3 separate regions of the Homo sapiens genome follow, and regions 1 and 2 are each linked to region 3. Evidence: promoter capture Hi-C in 16 types of primary human blood cells and fetal thymus (Javierre and others, 2016). All regions are on one chromosome and are shown on one strand. Each heading gives the region's core, a stretch centred on a gene start or on the middle of the fragment in contact. The rest is flanking DNA. Distances are from core to core; before and after follow the strand shown. Region 1 holds the start of MDP1 (magnesium dependent phosphatase 1). Region 2 holds the start of NEDD8 (NEDD8 ubiquitin like modifier). Region 3 overlaps C14orf93 (chromosome 14 open reading frame 93).

Region 1 (4,095 bases), core at 349-2,848, 1.2 Mb after region 3:
TGCTCCTCCCTTATCTCCGCATACCTCTCAAAGTGTGTGATCTTGCTGCCTGGATAGATTTCCCGATGAACAAAGTACCTGAAGAGGTCAAAGAGCTCCAGTAGCTGGTTGGCCCCTTCTATCTCACTTGTCCTGCAAAACGGTGTAAAAGATGGGATTAGCAAAGTGAAGGGCCAGGGCTACGTTAACTTATTAAGCAAAGTTAGTAAGTATAACCAGGGAAATCAACTTGCTGTTTTTCCGGGATGGACAGGCATCCTCAGCCTCTGTTTAACTCCATTGCCTTCCTATTTGACACAATTGGTGCTGGGCCAATGTTTTAGCTTTTGTTTTGAGACAGGGTCTAGCTCTGTTGCCCAGACTGGAGTGCAGCGACCCAATCACGGCTCACTGTGGTCACGACCTCCTGGGCTCAAGTGATCCTCCCACCTCAGCCTCCCAAGTAGCTGGGACTACAGGTGCACGCCACTACAATTTTTTTTTTTTTTTTGGTAGAGATAGGGTCTCCCTCTATTGCCTAGGCTGGTCTCAAATTCCTGGGCTCAAGTGATCCTCCCACCTAGGCCTCCCAAAATGCTAAGATTACAGGTGTGAGTCACTGTGTCTGGCCCCACTTTTTTTTTTTTTTTTTTTTTTGAGACATTGTCTCACTCTGTCACCCAGGCTGAAGTGCAGTGGCTCCATCTCAGCTCACTGCAACCTCCGCCTCCCGGGTTCAAGCGATTCTCCTGCCTCAGCCTCCCGAGTAGCTAGGATTACAGGTGCGTGCCACCACGCCCTGCTAATTTTTGTATTTTTAGTAGAGACGGGGTTTCACCATGTTGATCAGGCTGGTCTTGAACTCCCGATCTCGTGATCCACCCGCCTCGGCCTCCCAAAGTGCTGGGATTACAGACGTGAGCCACCGCGCCCGCCTGCTGGCCCCACTTTTTAATAGTTAAAAGGCACAGGAGAGCGTTCAAGGGAAAAAATATGTAAATACTTGGAAACTTGCACCGCCCCTATTTTTGTAGACCAGGGGTTTCACTGTCTCTTGCATGCACCCTTCAGCATTACACTGTCAGTTGTCAGTCGCTCTTCTTACCTTGAAGCAGCCGCACCGGGCACCCCAAGGCTCTGCAATCGTTTTAGGACCTCAGGCACCTCTGGGTACAGTCGGACGTCTTGGCCCCGCCTATCTCGTACAGTTCCATCACTGGAGAGGGCAAGAGTGCGCTCAGCCCTGGCTGGGTCCTATCTCGCCCCCAGTCTTCCCTGTCCCTACCTCACCTGCTCTTATGGAACGGAGGGTCTACGTGCGTGTCGACCCAGAAAGGCCAGAGAGTGTAATCTGCGAGAGGAAGGAGAGGGAAGGTTCAGCCTGGGGCGGGAGATGCAGGGATTCGGGAGCTGCTGTTAGGGATGTGGAAAAGGAGAGCACCTTACGAAATTCTCCCCTTCCCGTCCCTCACCCAAATCAAAGACTGCCAGCTTCGGTAGCCGCGCCATGACCCGCACCGCAGGCTGCGCGCAGCAGAGGTGGGGCTTCACCCGGGGCCTTAGAGAGTGCGGAACCTCCGGCAGCTAAGGCAGCCACCCTGCCTGCCATAGACAAATGGCGACTAGAGCGTCGCCACTCGGGGCGTCATCAGCCTGGAGATGGCGCAAGAGTGCCATCTGATGCTGGGCGGGGAAGAGGATTGCAGCGAGGTACCAACACGACCACACATGCAACCACAGCAGTCAAGTCTTTCTAAGGCATTGGCCACGGGCATCCTCCCTACTTCTCCACTCCACCCAGCCTTGCCCGATTCTATTATACTAAGAAGCCAGGGAAGAAGGAAAGCCTTTTCTTCTAGCACCTGCCTCTTCTTGAGACCCAAGTGATACATCACAGCTTGTCACTCAATCTTTCTGCATTATCAACCTCCTGACAGTGTAGAACCCAAAGTCCTCAGTAATATTCCAGCCATAGAGTACAGTGTCAGCCAAACCCTTGAAGGCGTTCTCCAACCAGGCCTAAATGTCCAGTACAGCCACAGTCAAGAGAGAATTCACTCTCCGAAGGTTTCACCATCCATGTCAGCACTACACTGGTAGATGTATAACAACCAGTTTGTGGGGAGGAACTGATCTGTAGTGTTTGCTAGTTTCTGTAAATAATCCTACCATGGCCAATTTCAAGCTACCAACATGAAGTCACTTAATAGAGTTGGAAAAAGGTGCCAATAATTGGCTCTCATTAGCCACTAGGAACTGGTTCCAACACACCACTAAGTAGGTTTTCCTAGAGTCTGATAATCCCCGTAAGAGCACCATTCCTTCCACTGTCCGATTCCTTCAGCCTGCTATAACTGAGTGAGCATTAGGTCCATTTTTATTTCAGTCAACTTGTGCAACAGAAGAAAGATTCCAGGAGGCCAGGAAATATTTTATTGACAACCAGGGACACAGTCATAAGAGAGGGAAGCACACAGGACTGCAAACTAACACCCAGTAGCCAGCAAGGGCCCTCTGGGCCAGGAATACTGAATCCTGGGATCCTCACAGTCTCCCACCAGTAGACATACATTACTGGGCATCCAGGGGAGGGGGCAGTGGCTATGGTGTCCCAGAGAGTGAGAGGATATATGATGCCTCATTATGAGCGACAGGGTAAAGAGGTAAAATGGAGGGTCCATCACTGCCTAAGACCACCTCCTCCTCTCAGAGCCAACACCAGGTGAAGGACTGAACCACCTAAAATCTTGTAATCAGCTGCTGTCTTCTCATCATTCCTGCAGGAAAAGGAAGCCAGAAAAAAAAGAAAAAGAAGACTTAGGAGTTTTTTGTTGTTGTTGTTGTTGTTGTTGTTGTTGTTTTTGACAGAGTCTCGCTCTGTCATCTAGGCTGGAGTACAGTGGCACGATCTCAGCTCACTGCAACTTCCACCTCCTGGGTTCAAGCAATTCTCCTGCTTCAGCCTCCTGAGTAGCTGGGATTACAAGCGCCCACCACCACGCCCAGCTAATTTTTGTATTTTTAGTAAAGATGGGGTTTCACCATGTTGGCCAGGCTGGTCTCGAACTCCTGACCTCAGGTGATCCACCCCCTTCAGCCTCCCAAAGTGCTGGGATTACAGGCGTGAGCCACTGCGCCCGGCCAGAACAGGAGTTCTTGAGTTTCCTGGATCTCTTTGGGGGTCTGTGAACTTGAATGAGAAAAAAAATCCCATCTTTATTTTTACTAACCCCCAACTGAAATTTAACATTTCTTCTAACTTTAAACATAGCCCAAAAACCACAGTAGTATTAGCAATATAGGTAACTTGTTAACAATAGCAATTAACTATTTTCTATCATGATCATTTATAGGTATCTTGAAAATATTTCAAAATTATGGTCATATTAGACCTACCATTAGATCTTATGCATTAATAAAAAAGTACATATATTACTATATCACAAATTTGTTTTAGTATTTTAATAACTATTTCAATATAATTAGTTTTCCTTTAATTCTATATATTTTGTTTTATGCCTGAAAAAATCTTATTCTGAGAAGGGGCTTAGAGGCTTCACCAGATTGCCAAAGAGTCTTAGGCACCAAAAACAAGAGGCACCCCTGATCCACCTCAGTACGTGCCCCCTCTCCTCTTCTCATCTTCACATAAGATCGCCATGCTGTCATTCTCACTCCAAACTCACATCTGCTTGCCACTGTAGATGAGCCTCTGCTGTTGTGGGGGGATTCCCTCTTTCTCCTCCACACGCTCCTTGATTCGCTCCACCTTTAGAGAGACAAGTAGTCAGGGGCTGCTGCTTAGGGGTAGGACCATGGAAACGGAAAGAACAAGGGCTATGCAGACAGCATGAGAGCAAAAGGACCAAGTTCATAAGCATATGCAAACAAATACACATGGCAAGAAGTACATGAAGAGGAGTTGGGCATGCATCACCTTGTCTGTAGGTTCAATGTCAATCTCAATCTCCTTTCCGGTCAGCGTCTGAAACAGGCAATGGTTTCATGAGTCCTTAAAGCCCAATGTACAATTTGTCTTCTAGGTAAAACATCCTATGTTGGTCTTTGGGATCTACTGCCTTCTAAAAGATGCATATTCTCAGCAGCACTGCTTTG
Region 2 (4,117 bases), core at 1,618-4,117, 1.2 Mb after region 3:
GAGCCACCACGCCTGGCCTTTCAAACAGTACTTTTTAAACTGCAGGTCTCAACCCATCAGTGGGCAGGTCTCAACCCATCAGTGGGTTATGAAATCAACTTAGAATTGAAAGTCTGAGAGCATATCACAAATAGCAAAGTTTTTGTGCCTTATGGGTTGTGACATAAAATTTCTTAATGTGGAGTGAAATTTTCAAAAAGTGTACAAAACACTTAGCATTAGTAACTTAACTTCTTTGGACCTAGTGGACATGAGAACCCATATGCATTGAAAAGCCAACAGAAGTATTCAACAGGCCGGGCGCGGTGGCTCATGACTGTAATCTCAACACTTTAGGCGGAGGTGAGCGGATCACTAGGTCAAGAGATCGATACCATCCTGGCCAACCTGGTGAAACCCCGTTTCTACTAAAAATACAAAAATTAGCTGGGCGTGGTGGCACACCCTGTAGTCCCAGCTAGTCAGGAAGCTGAGGCAGGAGAATCGCTTGAACCCGGGAGGCGGAGGTTGCAGTGAGCCGACATTGCGCCACTGCACTCCAGCCTGGTGACAGAGGGAGACTCCGTCTCAAATAAAAATATTCAACAGTTAGTGTTTCTCAAGATTTTGACAGTGATCCATTCTAAAAATTAGTATGAACTAGTAACACCCCCTGTGTAATATACATATAAAATAAAATAAAAAATTTCAGGCCTGGCAACAGAGTGAGACTCTGTCTCAAAAAAAAAAAAAAAAAAAAAAAAAAAGGCCAGGCACGGGGGAGGGTGGCTCACACCTGTAATCCCAGCACTTTGGGAGGCAGAGGCGGGCGGATCACGAGGTCAGGAGATCGAGACCATCCTGGCTAACATGGTGAAACCCTGTCTCTACTAAAAATACAAAAAAATTAGCTGGGCGTGGTGGCAGGCGCCTGTAGTCCCAGCTACTCGGGAGGCTGAGGCAGGAGAATGGCATGAACCCGGGAGGCGAAGCTTGCAGTGAGCCGAGATGGCGCCACTGCACTCCAGCCTGGGCGACAGAGCGAGACTCTGTCTCAAAAAAAAAAAAAAAAAAAATCATAAAACAATATCCTTACCTAGCACTATATTATTTCCTATTTTCTCCCCCTCTCTCTTTCTTTTTTTTTTTTGCAGGGGGAGATGGAGTTTCACTCTTGTCGCCCAGGCTGGAGTGCAATGGCGCCATCTCAGCTCACTGCAATCTCCGCCTCCCAGGTTCAAGGGATTCTCCTGCCTTAGCCTCCGAGTAGCTGGGATTATAGGCGCCCACCACCACGCCCGGCTAGTTTTTGTATTGTTAGTAGAGGCGGGGTTTCACCATGTTGGCCAGGCTGGTCTTGAACTCCTCACCTTAGGTGATCCACCCACCTCGGCCTCCCAAAGTGCTGGGATTACAGGCGTGAGCCACTGGGCCCGGCCTTTTTTTTCAGGCAGGGTCTGGAGTGCAGTGGTGCCATCACTGCTCACCGCGGCTTCGACATCCCAGGATCAATCAATCCTCCCATCTCGGCCTCCCGAATAGCTGGGCCTACAGGCATGCGCCCAGACCCTTGGCTAATTTTTTGAATTTATTGTACAGGCAGGGTTTCGCCATGTTGCCCAGGATGGTCTCCAACTCCTGGGCTCAAGCGATCGGCCTGCCTCGGCCTTCCAAAGTGCTGGGATTACAGGCGTGAGCCACCGCGCCCAGCCTATTTTCTCTTTTTAATGGCGCCAGTGACCCATTCACCTATTAAATTGATGTTACGACTCTTATATAGGCCGCTACTCAACGTTAAAAAAAATCATCTTTAACATACTATTTTAATACTAGACCTCAAATCTTAGCTAAGAAGTAGTTTGGAAGGACTGGGGAAGAGAAGGTTAAGAATGACTATTATGTACGGTAAATATGCTAAGAAGCTGATGAAATAACGATAGATTTACTTAGCTACAAAAAGGCCAAACTAGCATTAGACTTCACTTGTCAGCAGTTTTGTTTTTTTGAGGGGGGCGTGGGGGGGGGGGTCTCTGTCTGTCTGAAGGCACAAAAGAGGAAACAGCAGATAGGACTAACGAGGGCTGGAAATTGGTGAAGAACCACCACGGGAGTTGAGAGATGCAGATGAAGGAAACCATGGCTAGTAGCAAGAACTAGGGCAGCGGTAACTAACCTGCCTCAGCCAAGGAAGTGAGGCTGGTCCAGGATGCCAGGCTCAGAAAGGCAGGTACTGACTGAACACACTCCCCGCTTTGGTTCCTGTAGGACGGGTGAGATACCACACCTTGGCAACCACCAGTAAAGGCTCATAGTCTAGCCCTTGGGAGGCCCCGATTTTAGGGCTGTGCTCGGAGGCGACCTACGTTAGGGACTGGGAGAAGCAGGTACCCTGGGAATGAAGAATGGAGAGCAGCGCTTACTCCAAGAATCTGAGAGACGGGGGAGTCAAGCCGCTGCTAGGCCTTCTCTATGACTGCGGGGGTTCGAATACAGTGAGACCCGACAAAAGCGACCCCATTCTGGGTGATAGCACAGTCCTGGCAAAAAAGCAGGCATGGCAAAATACCCCAGGGTCGTCAGGTGGGACCTGGGCCCCGCTCTCAAAGCCCTTCTGGGTCCCCCTATTTCCCACCACCCCTCGCGCGGAGCCCTGAGGCAGTCAGCGTCCTCCAGGCTAGGGAAAGGCGTGGTTTTCCTTCCCCACGTCTCCCGTAAGGCACTGCTGCCAGCCCAGTACTACTGCGTCTTGGCAAGGCTGGAGGTGCTCCCACCTTCACTTTAATTAGCATCTTCTTTCCAGTTTGGGGCTGCACACGGATAAATTGCTGCTCCTACCGCTCCGGTCGCCGCTGCCGCCCTCCAGCACTCTTGCCTGCAAGGGCCACTTCTACTTCCGGGTCACTGTCTGGCTCCACCCCCCCCCCCCCCCCCACTGGGTTCCGGAAAGGCTCAGGGTTGCTCCCGCGTTTCGGTTCAGTGACGTCGTAAATTGGAATGAGGCATCCAGTTTAGCAACAGCAGAGATGACGACTCTGCGATTCTGAGAGTCCCTGGCGAGCCCGGGCTAGCGAAAAGTGGGGGCAGAACGAACTACATCTCCCATCGTGCCAGGAGGCGGTCCCGCCCGTTTCCCCCTGGGAGTTGTAGTCTAACCCCCTCGGATCCAACAGCAACCTCAGTGCGTGAACTCTGTTATCCAGAAGGCCTCGCCCTGCCGCCGCCGAAGCTGGAATTCGTCGGCTAGTAGTTCTCGCCGGCAACTAGAGGAACCTGTTGGCGTGGCCCAGAAGGCTTAGCGGGATTGCACGAGGTTAGTTGCTAAGCAAGGTGGTCTTTGGTCAACTGCCGCCTGGACCAAGGCAACAGGAAGTGAGTACCTCTATTCCGGAAACTAGTTATGAACCCTCCCCGCCCCCCGTCGCCAACATTCCTTCGTTCCCCTAAATCAGCCTCTTGCCCCATTGCTCTTTGCAGGGGTAGAAGAAGGAAGTGTAGCGGGGTAAGGAATGCACCGTCAGGGTCTCTCACAACCCTTTCCCAGCTCTCCTCCCCAACAAACAGTACCTGGGATGGAGCCCTAGGGTAATCGCAGCCACGGGATGGGTCGAGGTGACAGGCTTCAGGGACCACACTTCGGCCTTTGCCCGACCTTCCACAACTTAAGCGAAGAGAGGCCACCAGCCGTAACAGGGCGTTAAAGCCCAGGGGAAGATTGGTCCTTATGACTTCCTGCCTTCCAGCCCTCAGATTCATCGCTACCCCGAGGCTAAGCGCCATGCCTCATATTGACAACGATGTGAAACTGGACTTCAAGGATGTCCTTTTGAGGCCCAAACGCAGTACCCTTAAGTCTCGAAGTGAGGTGAGCAAGCTTCTCTACTTGCTGTTTCTTGACCCCACGCTCCCGGTGGGCCACAACCAAGAAAGATGCCTGTCCTTGTCCTAATATGGTACGTTTTTTGGATTAATGAAATGGTCAATTTCCTGTTCATATCTGCAGGTGGATCTCACAAGATCCTTTTCATTTCGGAACTCAAAGCAGACATACTCTGGGGTTCCCATCATTGCTGCCAATATGGATACTGTGGGCACCTTTGAGATGGCCAAGGTTCTCTGTAAGGTAGGGCTTTCCTCATGC
Region 3 (4,034 bases), core at 289-2,788:
CACTTTGGGAGGAGGAGGATCGCTTGAGCCCAGGAGTTTGAGACCAACCTCGGCAGCATAGCAAGACCCAGTCTCTAAAAAATAAATAAATAAAAAGAGGAGACACCAGTATATTAGAGAAGAAGTGTATTTATTTAACATTTTAAATTTCAAATGATGGCAACATGTTTAAGTAGAAAGTCCTGAAAACAACTGACTAGGTCTAAAAAAGAGAAAAAGATCTTCAATCTTGGGATGCGTTGCCAACACAACATGACAGTAGATGTCACACTTAGGTTTGCAAAAAATATAAGCATTTGGGGTTCATTTCAGTATTGGTCTAATTTAAATAAATGTGAAACGAGCCTTAAAAATGTACTTTCCAGTACTTTTGGTATTTTTCATAAATATTTAGATAAAAAAGAAAGACAATTCATCTCCTTTAGACAGACAGTTCAGGGTAAGACTGTCCATAATTTTAACTATCCCTTTCCTCCCAAGTCACATTTTTGTTAGGACTAAATATATCATACTCTTGGCAGTTCCCTTGCTTGCTTTCTCCCCATTCTGAGTTTGAATTTTCTGCATGACTGAGTTCACCTCCAAACTATGAAAAATAAAAGTTTTCTCACTATTTAATAGATGTGTATGATATGGTATCACTCAGATGATATATGTTTTTATAATGGGTGCTTGACTCATTCAGGGTCATGCTAGCAATAGACTTCCTTAAATGTGATTACTGAAAGCATGGCAATTCATATCATAATCTTCATTTTAAGAAATAAATAAGGAAAACGGCCACTTAAAGCTCCTGCTGTGTTGGTCAGTCCTACTCCTCCACTTCAAGGTGCAAAATGGCTCACCTGTCAAAAGGTTCTCTCAAAACCTATTTTTATCAGAAATGAGCTCCTTATCACACAAGAGCAGCTAAGTAAATACCACAAAATACTATTTTCCCACATTTTAAAAGAGTGACTCGACTAATGGTCTGCAAAAAATCCAAGACCTTATTTTTAGGGGTAAAAAAGAGAGCTGTAGACCCAGAAGGCCGAATGCGGTCTTTAAAGGATTCCACGTAATCTGAAAATTCCACGTATATTTCTATAGCAGGATGAGAATTTTTAGCCCAGTATAGCACAGTCCTTTTTATTTACATTTGCTAAGATTACATTGGTAAGATTAATATTTCCGATTTCAGGTTTGCCTAAAGGACCCACTGCATTTATGGAGAAACTGAAAAATGAAAAAGTAGCTCCTAGAACTCGTGCCAGCGAGAACTTGGTAAATGTTAGTTGATTAAATATTAGTCAAGGATGACAAGGTGGACCCCAGGGAGGGCAGAACCGTTTCCGATGGGTCAGTGTGATTCAGCTACGGGAAAGGCGATCGCAGCGACGCGGGAAGCAGAGATCGGCGACTGCTCAAGAGGCCTCAGGGGACAGGGTGACTCGCCACTGTGCCCTACCATACAGTGCGCTCTGGGAGTCCCGGGTAAAGGGGGTCATTCCCGCGAGGGATGCGGAGAGCAGAGCGGCCGGAGGAGCGGCTAGGGATCTCGCCGGGTCACCGGGGAGGGTAGACTACGTAGCCCCGAGAGCTTTGAGAACTTGGGCTGAAGGCGGCGCTCGCCGTGAGAACTGACGCGGAGGTGCAGCTTTGCAGCCCTACAGATGTTCTACCGCGTGTGCCTGGCGCTACCGCACGGGCTGACTCAGCTAGGCAGAGGCGGAGGCGGGCGCGCGGGAGACAGAACTATCCGCGGCGCCTGCCCGTGTACCCGGCTACCGCGCGCACGCGGGGAGACACCGCCCCGTTTGCCTTCTGGCTCCCGGTGATTGGCGGTTAGACGATGGCTGGGGAGCAGGGTCACGGACACTATTGGCTGCAAACAACAGTCACTCAAAAAGTCAGGTAGGGGAGGGGCCTCCTCAGGGAGGGACAAGACTGTGAGGCTTTTTCAAGGCCGTCAGACGCCATCTTTAGCTTGTTTTTGTTTACTTGCTTTTGTTCTCTGCTGCTCACAAACCTGTGTGTACACGATTATAAGCACAGTGGCCACAAATCGGCGTCACACGTTGGGTGGTGGCCGACTTTTAGTTACTGCTGGCCTCGGTTACATTTCTTTCACATGTCACCTGCAAATTAGCAGCTCCTCACAGTTCAAAGAAGTTTCCAATACTAGGGGCCCCGAGGATTCCCAGGCAAAATCAACAGAGTTTAGTTTTGCTTTGCTTTGGAAGGCCAAGCCAACGATATATATGTGCGAGGAATTCTCTCCTTTCTTAGGAAGAAAAAGCAAGAACAGTGGATATGACCCTACGTTCCTGGATGTAGAAATCAAATAGCCTAGGAAATCAGGGATACGGGCTCTGCACTGTTCAGGGAGAGCTCTCCCTATTTTTTGAGACGCTAAAAAGTAAGGTAAAAAGTATATGTGATGACCTGTAGTGATGTGGAAAAGAGCTAAAAAGGGTAAAACTCCATTAAAAATTCCCGTAACTGGCCGGGCGCGGTGGCTCACGCCTGTAATCCCAGCACTTTGAGAGGCAGAGGCGGGCGGATCACCTAAAGTCAGGAGTTGGAGACCAGCCTGACCAACATGGTGAAACCCCGTCTCTACTAAAAATACAAAAATCAGCCCGGCATGGTGGCACATGCCTGTAATCCCAGCTACTCGGGAGGCCGAGACAGGAGAATCGCTTGAACCCAGGAGGCGAAGGTTGCAGTGAGCCAAGATCGCACCATTGCCACTGCAGCCTGGGCAACAAGAGCGAAACTCCGTTTCAAAAAAAAAAAAAAAAAAAAAAAAAACTCCCATCACTGTTGTGATCACAAAGATCACTAAAATGTGACTAGATTTCAAAGAAATGCAGGTCTGAAATTGTGGAATAATCCACAGTCGAGCCAGTATTTATTAAGCACTGGTCTGACTTGAATTGTTAGAGAATAAAAATACACTCAGCACAAGTAAGAAACCCAGAAAGCCCAAACAGGGCCACTTTTGTTATAAATTTGTACAAGTAACTTTATTGCAGTCAGTATTTAGGAGTCAAATACTGCTTGAAATAGAGTAGGATGCTAGCTGTGTAATAGAAATGCATTATTATACAGAAGTTTTGTTGTAATGAAATTTAAATTCTACAGTAGATTTTTTTTTTTGTCTCCTGGTTGTCACTGCATTTGTGACATTCCAGTTTCTCCCTCAGCACCTCATATACCTCCTATGCTTTCACTCCAATCTGCGAATACAAATTTGGATACAGATATTTTCCATACAACTTCTAATGAGGAGATAGTGATTCTGTAACAGAATGAAGTGAAAATAGGGCTCCTATAACAGGAGGTTCTGCTCTGCGAGCCTGTTTTTCTCTAATTCATATACTTTTTTCTGTGACTCTTAGAAATGAGAAGCTTTCCATTCTAAAAATGCAACATGATAACCAAAAGGCATTTCTTATCCCTTCTATTATTTGCCTTTGCATCCTCTTGGCTCCCCATCACCATCACCATGAACAGTTTTTGAGAATTACACTTGACTGGATTTTTTTCCTGATACTTTGCCAGCTGTGGAGCTTTTCGAATATTCCAACCAATAAACGACCATTTTGTCAAAAAGCCAAGAAAGAACTTCCCTTCTGAACACACCAACCAAACCACACATAAAGGCCAAAATATACACAGCTGTACACTTAAGAACGTGAGACAATAAAAAGCAAAACCACTTAGGCAAAACAGTCACTGAAGGCTTTGAACCACAGATTCAATAAATTGCCTACTCTCATTTGCCACATGGACTATATACTCCTTGGCAATTATTTAATTATTCATTATTCTGATCCTTTAGGAGCAGAAAAATATAGTAAATGCACATAGAAAGTGCCTAAGTATGCTAAGCATAGGATTTCTTCTAAGCTCTGCTTTGCACACAAAATATTTTGATCACATTTGGGAAGACAACGGAAAAAAATTCACATCCTAGGGGATACTTTGCACACATAAAACCAGATATATTTATCACTTTTGAAAATAAAATCTGATATGGCACATATACA

The links. Contacts are between HindIII fragments. The CHiCAGO score rates a contact against its expected background, and 5 or more counts as called.
Region 1: the fragment with the promoter of MDP1 here is called in contact with a fragment that was not itself captured in region 3 in 1 of 17 cell types (monocytes); the score reaches 5.5 in monocytes.
Region 2: a contact is called between the fragment with the promoter of NEDD8 here and a fragment that was not itself captured in region 3, in 1 of 17 cell types (monocytes). The highest score is 5.2, in monocytes.

The regions. Positions count from the first base shown.
Region 1 is chr14:24,214,468-24,218,562 of GRCh38, forward strand. It overlaps MDP1 (magnesium dependent phosphatase 1), which reads right to left and starts at 1,599. Exons shown (of 6, transcript NM_138476.4): 1 at 1,452-1,599; 2 at 1,270-1,330; 3 at 1,085-1,195; 4 at 25-132. The coding sequence starts at 1,488. NEDD8-MDP1 (NEDD8-MDP1 readthrough) reads right to left here. Exons shown (of 7, transcript NM_001199823.3): 2 at 3,917-3,964; 3 at 3,666-3,748; 4 at 1,085-1,195; 5 at 25-132. NEDD8 (NEDD8 ubiquitin like modifier) reads right to left here. Exons shown (of 4, transcript NM_006156.3): 2 at 3,917-3,964; 3 at 3,666-3,748; 4 at 2,390-2,756. The coding sequence ends at 2,660. RefSeq lists enhancers at 325-1,063, 1,476-1,645. The HindIII fragment of the contact is 6,893 bases long and covers 1-4,095 here.
Region 2 is chr14:24,229,500-24,233,616 of GRCh38, forward strand. It overlaps NEDD8 (NEDD8 ubiquitin like modifier), which reads right to left and starts at 2,868. Exons shown (of 4, transcript NM_006156.3): 1 at 2,751-2,868. The coding sequence starts at 2,768. NEDD8-MDP1 (NEDD8-MDP1 readthrough) reads right to left here and starts at 2,868. Exons shown (of 7, transcript NM_001199823.3): 1 at 2,751-2,868. The coding sequence starts at 2,768. It overlaps GMPR2 (guanosine monophosphate reductase 2), which reads left to right and starts at 3,430. Exons shown (of 10, transcript NM_001002002.3): 1 at 3,430-3,478; 2 at 3,720-3,841; 3 at 3,980-4,099. The coding sequence starts at 3,755. RefSeq lists enhancers at 2,732-3,597, 2,764-3,058. The HindIII fragment of the contact is 2,879 bases long and covers 970-3,848 here.
Region 3 is chr14:23,005,388-23,009,421 of GRCh38, forward strand. All of the region lies in intron 1 of C14orf93 (chromosome 14 open reading frame 93), which reads right to left. It overlaps LOC124903286 (a long non-coding RNA gene), which reads left to right. Exons shown (of 2, transcript XR_007064075.1): 2 at 1,181-3,597. Among named protein-coding and RNA genes, the nearest start is that of C14orf93, 2.7 kb to the right of the region's middle. RefSeq lists enhancers at 1,254-1,623, 2,557-3,117 and a silencer at 1,784-1,833. The HindIII fragment of the contact is 3,706 bases long and covers 1-3,391 here.